Linked DNA regions of Homo sapiens: all the other regions are linked to region 5. The links are contacts of gene promoters, found by promoter capture Hi-C in blood cells and fetal thymus (Javierre and others, 2016). All regions are on one chromosome and are shown on one strand. The core of a region is centred on a gene start or on the middle of the fragment in contact, and the rest is flanking DNA. Distances in the headings are between cores, read along the strand shown. Region 1 overlaps EXOC6 (exocyst complex component 6). Region 2 overlaps CPEB3 (cytoplasmic polyadenylation element binding protein 3). Region 3 overlaps EXOC6 (exocyst complex component 6). Region 4 has its middle 13 kb from the start of EXOC6. Region 5 holds the start of IDE (insulin degrading enzyme).

Region 1 (2,700 bases), core at 98-2,597, 310 kb before region 5:
CAAAATAAGGAGGAGCAAAAAGAAGTAGAGAAAATCGAGGGCCCTGTACTTGACCTCAGTTGAAGAGACTCTGAAAAAGCTATTTTTCTTTTTTTCTTTAAATGATAATCATTATTCTTTGAAATTCTGATTTGTAGGAACAGAAAGGAAATGCTGTTAAGCAGTACTCACTCTTTGAGCCTAGTTGGTTTATAGTTATATCTACCTAATTCATATATGAATGTGCTAGATTTATTGCCATTCTAAATTTTGAATCAATAAACAATTTTAACAAAAATAATTTTTCGTTCTTTCAGTCTCCCAAAATTTTATAATTTCTATTGTTAAGTCTAATCAAGTTCCTGTAAACAAACACACACATATTTATATGCTAGAACCAGCAAGAGCGAACATTAGAAAATTAGTAAACTTTCCATTCTCCCACATCCAATAAGAGTATACCTTAGTGCTCTATATATAGATAATGACACATCAATGTAAGAGAGTTCAGGACAAAGGTAAAATAAATAAATAAATAAAATAAAATTTGTTTAAAAGTAAAAAAGAGGGGGGGGTTAGCTCAGTCATCCCTTCCAAAAGCTTAACACAATAAAATGTCTAATTCTGGCAAAATTTAATGCAACTCAGACAGAAGTACAGATGCAAAATCATTTTTAAAAGAAGAGATGGCTGGGCACAGTGGCTCACGCCTGTAATCCCAGCACTTTGGGAGGCTTAGGTGGGTGGATCACAAGGTCAGGAGTTCCAGACCAGCCTGGCCAATATGGTGAAACGCTGTCTCTACTAAAAATACAAAAATTAGCCAGGCGTGGTGATGCACACCTGTATCCCAGCTACTTGGGAGGCTGAGGCAGGAGAATCACTTGAACCCGGAAAGCAGAGGTTGCAGTGAGCCAAGATTGCGCCACTGCACTCCAGCCTGGGCAACAGGGAAAGACTCCCATCTCAAAAAAAAAAAAAAGAGCTGACTTTAACCTTCATGTGAACAGAGAACAAATATGGCTTATGCCACACTAAAGATTTTACTTACATATTTTAATTTTAGCAACTCGGAATGTATAAAAATACTTTGTGTCTCAAAAATATAGCTAAAAAAATTTTAAGTATCAAACACATTTTCTATCTTCATTATATCAACCCTTGAAAACCAAAGTTTTCAAAGTTTAAATATGAGTTAACTCGCTGTAACTGATTATAAATTGGCTTTAGGGAATTTAAACAAAGTATCTTGCAGAGATACTTTCTTGAATTGTGTGTTTAGGGCTCCACCTAGTGGTAGTAAAATAAATACAAAAAGAAAGATAAGACATTAAAATGTTAAAATTGGTTCACTAGAAATTAATGCTTTTATCATCAAATCAAATGTCTTAACTGAGAAACTACGGCCACTTGAATTTTTTGGAAAGATGCTATATTCTGTAAATAAATGACTTAGTAATCAAATTCCACAGTATTTTTTTTAAGGAAAAGTTCCCTTTCTGATGAAAAACCAACATTCACGATGTATTATTGTGAAAAAAACTCATCACTTTTTATATATTTTTTGTTAAAAAGCATGTAATATCCTTACACTATTTTGGGTATCTTTTTAATTCACTGCAGTCTTCATTGTAAAGAATAAATCCATTACAACTGTGAAGAAAATAAAATGTATTTACTCTTTTTTACTAAAATAATGTCTACACTTTGAGGAAAATCTGATATAATCTCAAAGTATCTAATTCTAATGTCCCGAAATTACTTATATTTGCTAGAATAGTATTGTTTCTTTTCTAGACAAAATAAAAATGGCTTTTCTCTGTCCCAGAATGCTTTGTTCACTAACAGAATACATATACTGGTTGCATAACCATAAAAGAGCATGGTCAGGGGCTACATCTGCATAGTGTATAATTTGAGAAAGTACCTAGAGCAATTGCCATTAAAATGCTAGTCACTGGCTGACTTTCCCATGTATTTTACTAAATGTCAATCAACTGCTTTTAAGAAAAAACAAAAACTAGCAAGAAAATGGACTTCCAAATACTGGAAAACTAGAAGCAGAAATATTGTTCAGGAATCCCTGGGCATTGACACTGCTTGTGTCAACTGACACCTTTTGGTGTCAAAGCTTTCTACAAACCTTTATCAGAAAACAAAACTTTAGGCCAGGCACAGTGGCTCAAGCCTGTAATCCCAGCACTTTGGGAGGCCAAGGCAGGTGAATCACTTGAGGCCAGGAGTTTGAGACCAGCCTGGCCAACATGGTGAAACTCTGTTTCTACCAAAAATACAAAAAAATTAGCCAGTTGTGGTAGCACACACCTGTAGTCCCAGCTATTCGGGAGGCTGAGGCAAGAGAATCACTTAAACCCAGGAGGCAGAGGCTGCAGTGAGCCAAGATCGCACCACTGCACTCCAGCCTGGGCAACAGAGCAAGACTCCATCTCAAAAAGAAAAGAAAAGAAAAGAAAAGAACAAAAAGAAAACAAAACTTAACTCTTTTACCCCTGACAAAATACTATCAGTTACTTCTGACTTCCTTTAATGCTTTTTAATGTCATTTTATACCTTTTCAAACACTAACCTATTTTCTGCCAGTTTTTCAAATGATACATTAGCCTTAAGTTTGCATTTCTATCAATAAAAAATTGCTTTCACACTCTTCTGCGCATTCTTTATTCTTCCAGTATAGGCATTTTTACTATTATTTCACCAGTT
Region 2 (2,700 bases), core at 109-2,608, 490 kb after region 5:
CCTGAAGTCTCCTGGTGTTTATCAGATCTTGTTTTCTTTCTACTCCCCACCTCACCCTGCCCTCACATTAGGAAAGCCTGTAAGTAGACTCACCGTGCCACCATGTGGCTAAAGCTCGCATATTCTTTAGAGTCAGTACAGGGTAATAATGGGCAGTTTGATTCTCCTCCTGCTGCCACCTGGAAGTACAACACGTTGCCACTCTGCTTCATTCACGTAATGTGAATCTCCATACAGAAATAGCCCTGTTGCATATCTCTGTGGCATTAGGACCTCTCCAGAATGCATATCTCTTCACTCTGACAGAAAATAAGTGCCAGACTTGGGGGTTATGATATCACCAGGAAAAAGTAGAGAGTGAGGTATGTGGTCTCTGTACTCTTCCCCAGTTGATTAACATGAGTATTCCTCTGATCCCAAATTTCTTGGTTTTGGCATCTGATGGGAGGACTGCCCCAGTGACCAAGCTTTTGGATCCATTCATTCCCAACCTTGATCAGGCTGGAAAAACTTTCAGTCTTTCTCATTAGAAGCATATAAACTGTTCTTGACTTCATGACTTCCTTAGGCCCTGCAAACAGATCAATCTTGAGAGAGTGCTCATCTGAATCCCCACAACCTACTGTTTTCTCGTTCATCTTTTGGTTCTATCTTTCCTAACAATTGCTGTGATAATTCCTTCCTTTCTTTTTTTCCCCTACCAATATTCTGTGGTGAATCCTGAAATTTCTTTCTCTGCCTTCCCCACCTGCCCTGACTGTTGTGAGGATGGTTTTTCTGTGGGAGGTAAAAATTTGTGAAGTAAATATTCAGAGATATGTGGCATATATCTAGAGAACATATATCCTGAATTTTTCTAAGATCATTTATTTCAGACATTTTATATAAACATTTGATAGTTCACATGTATTAGAAACCATGTCCTGATTTGTGACTTAGGAAACAGGAGTATATTATAACCCTATCCTTTATTGTTGTTTTATGATATGGTTGCAGGCAGAAACCATCCTGTATCAAGTTTTTCAACAGTAGAAGCTTTTTCACCATGTCCTAAGTTCAGTATGGGTTGTCCCGGATAAACTCCAGATTTGGCATACTGACTTGATTAACTGTATTACCTTTAGGGATAAGGGTTTTCCTAATGTTAGTATGTGTTTGTGTCCTCCCTCTGCACCAAAAGCAAACCCTCATCCAAAGCTGATGTCAAACTTTGCCATATCAGTGGCAGGCTGTGTGATATTAGCATAAAACCAAAATAACACTGCAATGAATTGATACTTATAGAGCATAAAACCAGGCCAACTTAAATGTTAAGCAGAGATTCACAGGGTGGGAGAGGGGCAAGAACCCTGGACAAAACTAAACATTTGAATACCACTCTGTCCTCAGCAGTGTGCCCAGAGCTCTCATGGATGTTTAATTCTCACAATGACCCTGTGAGATTGTAAGTGGTAGACTGCGCTTTCGAGATGATGAAGCAGAGTTCAGATAGAGTAACTGGTCTTTCTCAGGTCGAAAGAAAGATACTTTATTAAGCTGAGATCTGAGATGTTGTCTCAGTAACAGTAGTAACAGTCTACTTGGTACCAGTGTACTCTGTCTGATTTAATTCATTGTTCATACCATCTATTTGAAAATATTCTTAACTTCCCAACATATCTGATGCAGAGCAGAAGCTTATGAGCACATTTCTTCCACTTGAAGTGTGTGAATTGCCCTTGAACCAACTTGACAATTGTGGTAAACCTAGAAAGTCCTCCTCAAGTTTAATCTTCCTTTCTTTCAGAAGTCAAGACCTCTTTGATATCTTAAGGTGCCCTATGCCTCTTGCCTATCTGTTTTGTCCTTATTTCCAAAGAGAAGAAATATGGATTATAGATTCGCAGTTTAGAATCTGTAGAGACGAATGTGTTATTTTCCTCTGGAATCCTCATTTCTACTCTATCTCGTTTGGCTCTCCAGTATCTCAGACTCACATGTTGCCTTAGCTGGCTTTGAAATGTATTATAATTAAATGATATAAATAGGGCCCTAAGGTGAACCCATGAAGAAGGAGTCATCATGGGTTTCCTCTCTGGTGAACTAAAGACCCTTTCACATCTTTGTAAAGAATTGGGAGCAGGCCAAGCACGGTGGCTCACGCCTGTAATCCCAGCACTTTGGGAGGCCAAGGCAGGTGGATTACCTGATGTCAGGAGTTCAAGACCAGCCTGGCCAATATGGCAAAACCCCATCTCTACTAAAAATATAAAAATGAGTTGGGCGTGGTGACTGCACTCCTATAATCCCAGCTACTTGGGAGGCGGAGGCAGGAGAATCGCTTGAACCCTGGAGGCGGAGGTTGCAGTGAGCCGAGATCGTGTCACTGCACTCCAGCCTGAGCGATAGAGCGAGATTCCATCTCAAAAAAAGAAAAAGAAAAAAGAAAAAAGAATCAGGAGCAAATCCAAGGAACCATAATTGAAGCTTATATTCAGATTCAGAGATGTAGTCATCACAATCCAAAGGAATCCATGGGGATGCTATGCTCCATATTGCTGCAGTATTCTAGTTTGCCCCTCCAGTCTGTGGCACAGTGACGCTCATCACAAGAGCCAGCATGTGGATTAGACTCATTGTGTTGCTGCTACCATGGAAGTTGTTCATGAGACAACTTAAGTTGTCTTAGGATCACAGAGCATCTTGTCCAAAGTATGGTAT
Region 3 (2,700 bases), core at 132-2,631, 290 kb before region 5:
ACTCCAGCCTGGACAACAGAGTGCGACCCTGTCTCATTTTTTTTTTTTTTTAAAAGAAAGGGCCTGCCATGGTGGCTCATGCCTGTAATCCAGCACTCTGGAAGGCCAAGGAGGGAGGATTACTTAAGCCCAGGAGTTTGACACCAGCCTAGGCAACAGGGTAAGACCTCATCTCTACAAAAAATTTTAAAAATTAGCCAAGCACTAATTTCAATCACACTGATGGAGCAAAACAATCGTATGACCATCTTCATAGATGCTGAAAAACATCTGACAAAATTCAACAAACTTTCTTGTTAAAAACACTAAATAAAGTGGGTATTGATGAATGTTTCCTTAACATGATAAAATATAAATCCCTCAGCACAAAAGCCAGAGCTCTCCTAATGAGAAAATACTAAAGGTTTTAGTCCCAGGTACTCGGAAGGCTGAGGTGGGAGAATCACTTGAACCCAGGAGGTTGAGGCTACAAGGTGAGTCATGATCATGCCACTGCCCTCCAGCCTGGTCTCTAGCAAGAACCTGTCTCAAAAAAAAAAAAAAAAAGAGGGAGGGAGGGAGGAAAGAAGGGAGGGAGGAAGGAAGGGAGGGCCCAATTAAAATAGTGAGAAAAAACACCTACACATAATCTTAAGGAATTCTAAAATTTATTTATGGAAAAGTTTAACTCTCTTGAAAGACATAACATGTTCTTGGATAGGAAGACTCAATATCATCAACATGCCTGTTCTCCCTAATTAATTTATAATTATAGCTCAATCCCAATCAAATACTTTGAGTGTTCTAGAACTAGAGAAATTTATTGTTTGTTTAGAGAAATAAGGAAGAGTCACCAGGAAATCCCTGAAAAAGATAAGCGATGAGATGCAGGTAGCCCTACCAGATATTAAAACAACGAAGCTTCCAAAATTAAAAGTGCTGCATAGCACATGAATAGACATATAGACAATGAACAGAACCAAGAAACCCACATACAGTATCACTGCGTATAAAAATTCAGTACATGATAATGGCACCATCTCAAATCAACATGAAAAAGACCTACATTTTAATAAGAGGTACTAGGATAGCTGGGTTGCCACGTGAAAAAAGATAAAGAGCCACTCCTCATGCCACACCCCAGGAAAATGCAAACAGAATCAGATGCAACATTAAAAAACACCATACAAGTACCAAAAGAAAACATGGGTGGACTCCCCTATAACTCCGGAATCTGGAAAACTTTCCTATGACTCAAAATTCACAAGCTAAAAAGGGAAAGACTGATAAATTTTATTTCATAAAATAAAAAACTTTTGCACAGCAAAAAATAAAAGTATAACTACAGTAAAAAGACAAATGAAAAAAATGTTTCTAATGGCAATTTTAAAAAACTGAAATGGACAAAAAAGATTACTGAATGTCCTATCTAGCATATTTTGGGGTTATCTGTGCCTTTCACTGTCTTTTGGCTATTTTACAACTTTATAAATTGTAGAAAGCTGATACTAATGCAAATGACTCTTGTCCAAAAAAATGCAGATATATTTTTGTCAGTGGAATACAATTGATTACTGCCCTGTGGATACTGACCAGTTGTGTATCCATTTATATATCCATCTCAGCATTCCCAAATCCTATATTGTTTTTTGCCATTGCCTTTGAAACAGTTGTAACATCATACTGATTCCCTCTTAATAAGTTAAATACAATCTTTGGCACATATTCATTTTACATTTGTGTGAGGGTCATGATTTTACCTTTTTGAAAATTATCTTTTAATAGTTTTGGAAGTTTTACCAAAATGCCCAGTGCATTCACCTGACAGAGCCAAGAAAACTGCTTTATCAGATAATTGCACCTCATGGGCTACTCAAGCTTGGGTATTATCTTTTCTTGGCTCCCAGAAGTAAAACCCAAGCAGCAATATATACTTAACTTTGCTGCCTGTTTCTCTGGGTCATCCCCGCTTCCCCCATCCTCTCTACAAATTATATGTTCTGGTGTGGTTTCTAGTTACTGCATGGCCAGTAAGTTATCACCCCTAAATGGCAGCAATGATTGAGAATTCGATTTTATGATCATTTACTTGGTGATCCTTATAGACGGATGATAGAGATCACTTGGGTAAAAGATAAAAGAGACTTTGGTTTGTTAGTCTTTTTAACATATCTGTTTATTCTGAGCTCAAATCCAGTTAAGAATTTCATGTCCACCAAGAACAGGTCTTTGACATCTGGACCAATGAGTTTTTCTATCTCTGTGACTCTTACATCTCTTGACCTGTGAGTGAAGTTACAGAAACAAAGTTACAAAGCTCTGCATCTGTAATTCAGAAAGACTTTTACCTCTTCATTAAGTATGTAAAACAAGTTATCTCTATTAATAGTTTAAACTATAAAGTCTCTTGAATGAAAGAAACTCTGTTCTGACTGGCTTATTGATACAAATAAGTACTTATATAAATAGAATATTTGTAAAATTCCCCCAAAACAAGGAAATTGAACTTCTAATATGTTAAATGTGTTAGACTTAAGAAAAATTCTTATGGAAACTAACTCAAAAACATTTTTAAAACCCAAGGTCACCTAAATAAGATACAATTTTGGCAAACCTTGATAATTTCAGTTTTTAAAAATAGCTATTTCTTGTCTCTGATTAATCATTTTATTCTGCTAAGATTTTTTTTCCTAAACACATACAGGTTTACTGATCACATAA
Region 4 (2,700 bases), core at 11-2,510, 260 kb before region 5:
CCTTGAGGGTGATGCTGAGAGAGTGCTGTGGCTGCCAAATCTAAATGATTTTTTGCTGTAGAAAGACAAGGTACAAGATTGGTACCAGGGATATTTTTCCTAAGAAGAGAAGGTAAAAAAGATCCAAGCACCAAGAAAGGAAGTCAAGTCCAACACCAGAGACAGACTAGCCGACAGGTTAGTTCTAAGGACAGACAAAGTCTGTAGATGTTGGCCAGTGTTGTGAGACCGGGGAGAGGTAGAAAGGGTTACAAGTTGAAGGCCAAGGGCTCTGAAGCAGCAATGGGAGCAGAGGCCATGGCCTAAAACACATCTAGGCTCCCTTCACCCTTTCTCTTGTTTCCACTTAGACTTAGCCACCTAGCATCTAGCACTTAACTACCTAGCACCTGGCACTTGACCACCTACCTAGCCACTAGGTGGATGCACAAGTTTTAGAAGGCAATGGTACAATTTAAAGTATGCCCCATATGGAAAAAAATTGTTGAGTTTTCCATTGCTACAAAGCTCTGATTTCTGCTATTGAAAATTACCAGCTCTTTTTCGCAGAATATTTATGATGCTCAGATAAGACAAAGGTATATGTAATAGTTATAATGGAGTTGTAATTATTTTGCAACTATACCTACATATTGATAATCCAAGAATCAACCAACAAATCTCAATTGTTTACCATGTCCCTAACACTACCCTAAGACCTTTGAAGATATTCAAACTATGTTTAATGCAAAATAAGATTTAAATAGCTGGGAGAAATTTATTCAGGTTTAAACTTTAGTGGATTTAGAAGCTCTTGGCCCTGGGGTCTTTCTGAGAATGAAGAGGTCACACACACACACACACAGATACACACACACACATATCCTTCCACTTAATCTACAAATATTAGTCAACAAATATTTATTGACTGTCACTATCAAATTCAGTGATGAATATCTTGTTCCCACACTGATAGGTGTCAGAGACAGGCAGACATAGAGAATTAAATTTTAAAAGCTGCCCTTTGAACACAATGACACATAGTTTTTCATTTTAATCCTGTTCTTGAACTGTGAAAATTAATACCCACATTACCAAAGAAGCTATTTTTAAACCTTATATATTGGTATTCAAGAAAATGTTAAAAAAGAAAAAATAAATAAACCTTATATGGAAACAAAATAATACATATCTGAATGGTCACCATACACTCAAGAAAGCAGCTACAATACAAATAAATGGTCTACATTTTTTCCTATGACTCATATCCACCCAAATGTAAATTGGCTTCATTGATATGTCTAATTGTTCTGAATGTTTTTCACTAAGTGATATGTTAAAGAAAACAATTGAAACCTCATATAAATTTATTTGGAGGTGATTGAGGTCCTTTTTGATCATTTGAAAGTCATAGTTTTTAATCTTATGGTGATGAGTTAGGAAACATGCAAAATAAAATGGATTAATTATGTCCTGTAATCTCTCTAAGGATAAGAAAACTTTGAGATTAAGTATATACAGAACTGTAACTGTTTTGCAAGAATATTTTTTACTCTTATAAAGAATTATAAAAAGCAGGGTAAAGGACCACCTTATCACCGCTAAAGAAGACACAATAAAATGCAACGGTGCCCTACCTTAAAGTAGCTTCAACAGGCAGTTCGAAAGACTGAATCTCAGCCAGGACATTCTCATAGGTTTGATCTGTTTCTTCTTCCAACATCGCTCGACAGGCCCCTAATTTTCCAGCTGCAGATGTCAGATATTGAGTGAAAAACTGTTGTAATTTATAAAAAAAAAAATACCGTTTTCCTTATAATTATTAGAAGGATTCTCTGTTCACCCAAAGGAGCAACAAAAACAAGCTCACTGTCTGACTTCATGCTATAAAAGTCTTTGCTTCCAAGAATGTTGCACAGCTGTTGCTGTCCTGTTTCCACTTATAACATTTTACTTACTATTAACCTTGACACAGTTCGGAAAGTTCCTGCCTAGTGCCAGCTATATTTATTCACTCGTTTCTCAAAGACAATAACTATATGTAGGAATTACAGTCATTACACTATACAAATTTATTAAATGCATTTGATTTGACAAGGCATATATATTAATATTATTTATGCTAAATACATAACTAAAGCTACATTCCTAGTTATTACCGCAACTATGCTTCCAGAAGCATTTGTATTTGTGGGCAAGGGCTTGCCCACAAACCCAAGGAGGTAATTTGCCCAGGAAAAATGAAATGTGCTATGGGATGTGATTTTGAGGTCACTAGGCTAATTCCTTGGTGCCCTGTCTATCTCCTTTGCTTCTCTACTTTGCTGTGTCAATTTCCTCCATTAGAGATAGAGCCATTAGTTCTTTTATCTCTTGTTCAAATACAAATGCTTCTGGAGGCATTTAGATCTTACTCCTTTTCAGTTCCTTATGCCTCACTGTGAATGAGTTTGCTAGATCCCTTCTGCAGAATAGGTTTTGATGGAGAGGAAGAAAGAGAATGAAGATGTCAGGGTTTTAAGAAGGCTAGCTGCCACCGAGAGGAAGAAAGAGTGCATGAACTAGAGGCCCAAAACAGCAAAGGAAAATGTGCCCTACAACCAGCCCCAAGTAGGCCTAAAGAACTAACGGGCATGTATTTCCCATTACCACTTGCATTCGATCTTCTTCAATTCAGTTTAGCCTCAGCTTTCTTGCTTAATACAAGAAATACAATATTTA
Region 5 (2,700 bases), core at 197-2,696:
GGAAGCATTTTTATGTAAGCATTTCTAATAAGTAGCCTAAAGAGATCTCAGGAAAAAAAAGGGTACTAATCTCCAAGTCTCGAGTATTTGTTGTGATGTATTTTCTCTCTATAGTAATCTTCTGATTGCTAATTTTGTATTTATAATTTGTATTTTATGTCTCAAAGAGGTCCCCCAAATTGTATATGTTTCAAGCCCTCCAAGTCTGAATCTACCCCAGCCCATTTATAGATTCCATTAATGGAGCATAAATGTATTCAGAAAGGCTGCATTAACACTCTCAGAGGAGCTGCTTCAAGGTGATTGACTACTCTGCATTGGGACTGGTAATTTAAAGGTTCTTAAAACCATGCACTTGCAAACACCACTAGGAGGCTTGCCATAATTTTTACCTGTTTTCATCCAAAGGTTTGCCTTTAGGTGAAACCGCACTGTTAAAAAGATCGTGGGTACGTCTTCGATAAAGCATCAACTTGATTAAGGAACCCTCCTACTGAATTCCCATTTAAAGCAATACTTGGACTAAGGACACCGTTTTTGGCTGCAGTCTTGATCGTCTGTCAATCAGAAACCTAAAAGTACTTAAGCTGGCAAGTCACCATCCCTAATAGCATTCTTCCTTAAAGACTCCCATAAGGTATTATGGAAAGTTAGATTCATAACAACTATTAAGTTGTTCGTGGGTGCAAAGCCCCATAAAGCCACTGGGGAGAAAATTCTTTGTTTAAAAAGTAACCACTGAAGCCGACTGACATTAGTAGTATTCCTAGTACGGAGTACTAACAAGAGTAGTAGTTTCTACTCTGGATTTGAAGCCTTGTTTTGCTGCGGCGCCCGTCCCATCCGCACCTTCCTCTTAAGAGAGCTGCTAACTTCCCCAAGGATGGAAACGTCCCCCTGGGTCCTGGCCTCTCTATCGCTGACCCCTGCGTCTGAATTTCCCCCACGCCGCACTCGAGCCTTGTCTCCAGCGCATCTGTGCCTTCGCGGTCCACGTCCCCACCGCGCTCTAGAGGGAGCCCGCGGGCCGCGCGCCGGCCGCGGATTCATTTTACGTGAGGCCGCCGCGACCACGAACCTTGTTCCAACACCTGCAGGGTCCGGCACGCTAGTCAGTGGGGGTGCCTCAGAAAACATAGCCCCGTGTGCCCTCACTGGATTTATGAGCGGCCCCTCGCCCCCTCACAGTCAGACACACGTCGCCACCCTCACAAGTGCGGCCGGTGGGATCTAGCTGGGACCCTCCCCGCCTGGGAAAGTCTGGGTGCTGGCTCCTAAAGCGCCCCGGCCAAACCCCTGTCCCTCCAGTCCGCCTGCTCAGGCCTCGGCTGTCCGCGGTCTTCACCGTCCTCGCCTGCGTCCTGGCCCCATCCGGCTCCAGGCAAAACCCGGAGCAGCTACCTCTCCGCAGCTCCCGGGAGACCGCGCGGCGCCGCGGCTAGAGCATGCGCAGTGCGCAGGGCCGGCTCGAAGCGCAAGCAGGAAGCGTTTGCGGTGATCCCGGCGACTGCGCTGGCTAATGCGGTACCGGCTAGCGTGGCTTCTGCACCCCGCACTGCCCAGCACCTTCCGCTCAGTCCTCGGCGCCCGCCTGCCGCCTCCGGAGCGCCTGTGTGGGTAAGCGGAATGGAGCGCCCGGGCCCTCGGGCCCCGTGGGTCACAGCGGTTTGGCGCTCGGGTTGCAAAGTGGTGATTCAGCACTTAAAGCCGCCACCGCTGCCCCTCACGCCGCCCGTCCCGCCGGCCTGGGGCCCGTACTGCCGCGCTGAGGCCGCCCCAGGGCCCGGAAGAGCGGCTCGCCAGGCGGGAGCCAGAGGCCTGGTCCAGAGTCGGGGACGTCCCTTGGGCTGGTGAGGGGCCGGGGCCGCTACCCGGGGCCACGGGGCGTGTGCCACTAGTGCGGGGGGCGCAGGGGCGGACAGAGTCACCCGGCCTGCACCTGGGAGCCGCGCCGCGTCACTCTCCCGGAGTCCGCCTGTGAGGGGGCCGGGAACCTGAGGCGGACTCGAGCCGTGGGGTAAAGGAATCCGGCGACTTCGGGGGGACCGCTTCTCACCTTGCCCTCAGCCCTGCCCTTTTCTCCGGGCACTGAGTTTCCAGGACCGTGTGGAATGCCCGCGCTGGGAAAAAAGTTTGCCTGCCTCCCGCCTTGGAAGACGAGTGTGGGGTTTCCTATCGGGGGACATTTAGGAGCCAAAAGATACCTCGGGATCCTCTACAGCAGCTCCCTTGTTTTACGTCGGAGACAACCGGAGCTCCGAGAGATGGCTTGATTTCCCAGCAACTGCCGAGATTGTGGCAAAACCAGGATTAGGACACAGGTTTTTTGCCATCCGGCGGCGTGCCCTCTCCACTGCACCGTTGATCTGCGTACGCTAGGCGTTTTCAGGCTTGTAGTGAACGCTGAATACTTTTTACTACGAATGGAAGAAGATAGGCAGTATTATCTTGCCCTCCCTAGAAACGTTATTTGAACCCCTGCTGGTTTTAATCAGTAATAGCCAGCACCTACTAAGTGCAGGGCACTGTGCTGGACCCTCTATGTAAAGTATGTGTCTGCCTTCCAAGGAACTTTGACTTGATTGGAGCGGATTGGGATGCCACGGGAATTGAGATAGCTACAAGGGTGTGTTGATGAGGGTCAGAAGATGGGTAGTATGGGTAGTGTGTGGGGCCAGAGATGGGGGGGTAGGCTGGCTT

What was found. The method cuts DNA at HindIII sites, captures the fragments that hold promoters and counts their contacts. A CHiCAGO score of 5 or more calls a contact.
Region 1: a contact is called between a fragment that was not itself captured here and the fragment with the promoter of IDE in region 5, in 2 of 17 cell types (naive B cells and total B cells). The highest score is 6.0, in naive B cells.
Region 2: a fragment that was not itself captured here is called in contact with the fragment with the promoter of IDE in region 5 in 1 of 17 cell types (megakaryocytes); the score reaches 5.1 in megakaryocytes.
Region 3: a contact is called between a fragment that was not itself captured here and the fragment with the promoter of IDE in region 5, in 1 of 17 cell types (naive B cells). The highest score is 7.3, in naive B cells.
Region 4: a contact is called between a fragment that was not itself captured here and the fragment with the promoter of IDE in region 5, in 1 of 17 cell types (neutrophils). The highest score is 5.0, in neutrophils.

What each region holds. Positions count from the first base shown.
Region 1 is chr10:92,883,644-92,886,343 of GRCh38, reverse strand. The region is part of intron 1 of EXOC6 (exocyst complex component 6); the gene reads right to left. Among named protein-coding and RNA genes, the nearest start is that of EXOC6, 36 kb to the right of the region's middle. The HindIII fragment of the contact is 1,531 bases long and covers 582-2,112 here.
Region 2 is chr10:92,085,331-92,088,030 of GRCh38, reverse strand. The region is part of intron 8 of CPEB3 (cytoplasmic polyadenylation element binding protein 3); the gene reads left to right. Among named protein-coding and RNA genes, the nearest start is that of BTAF1, 160 kb to the right of the region's middle. The HindIII fragment of the contact is 641 bases long and covers 1,038-1,678 here.
Region 3 is chr10:92,866,662-92,869,361 of GRCh38, reverse strand. The region is part of intron 1 of EXOC6 (exocyst complex component 6); the gene reads right to left. Among named protein-coding and RNA genes, the nearest start is that of EXOC6, 19 kb to the right of the region's middle. The HindIII fragment of the contact is 957 bases long and covers 903-1,859 here.
Region 4 is chr10:92,833,741-92,836,440 of GRCh38, reverse strand. It overlaps a transcript of EXOC6 not described here. Among named protein-coding and RNA genes, the nearest start is that of EXOC6, 13 kb to the left of the region's middle. The HindIII fragment of the contact is 2,950 bases long and covers 1-2,700 here.
Region 5 is chr10:92,572,839-92,575,538 of GRCh38, reverse strand. IDE (insulin degrading enzyme) reads left to right here and starts at 1,446. Exons shown (of 25, transcript NM_004969.4): 1 at 1,446-1,617. The coding sequence starts at 1,520. RefSeq lists enhancers at 787-1,026, 1,037-1,096 and a silencer at 1,597-2,046. The HindIII fragment of the contact is 22,211 bases long and covers 1-2,700 here.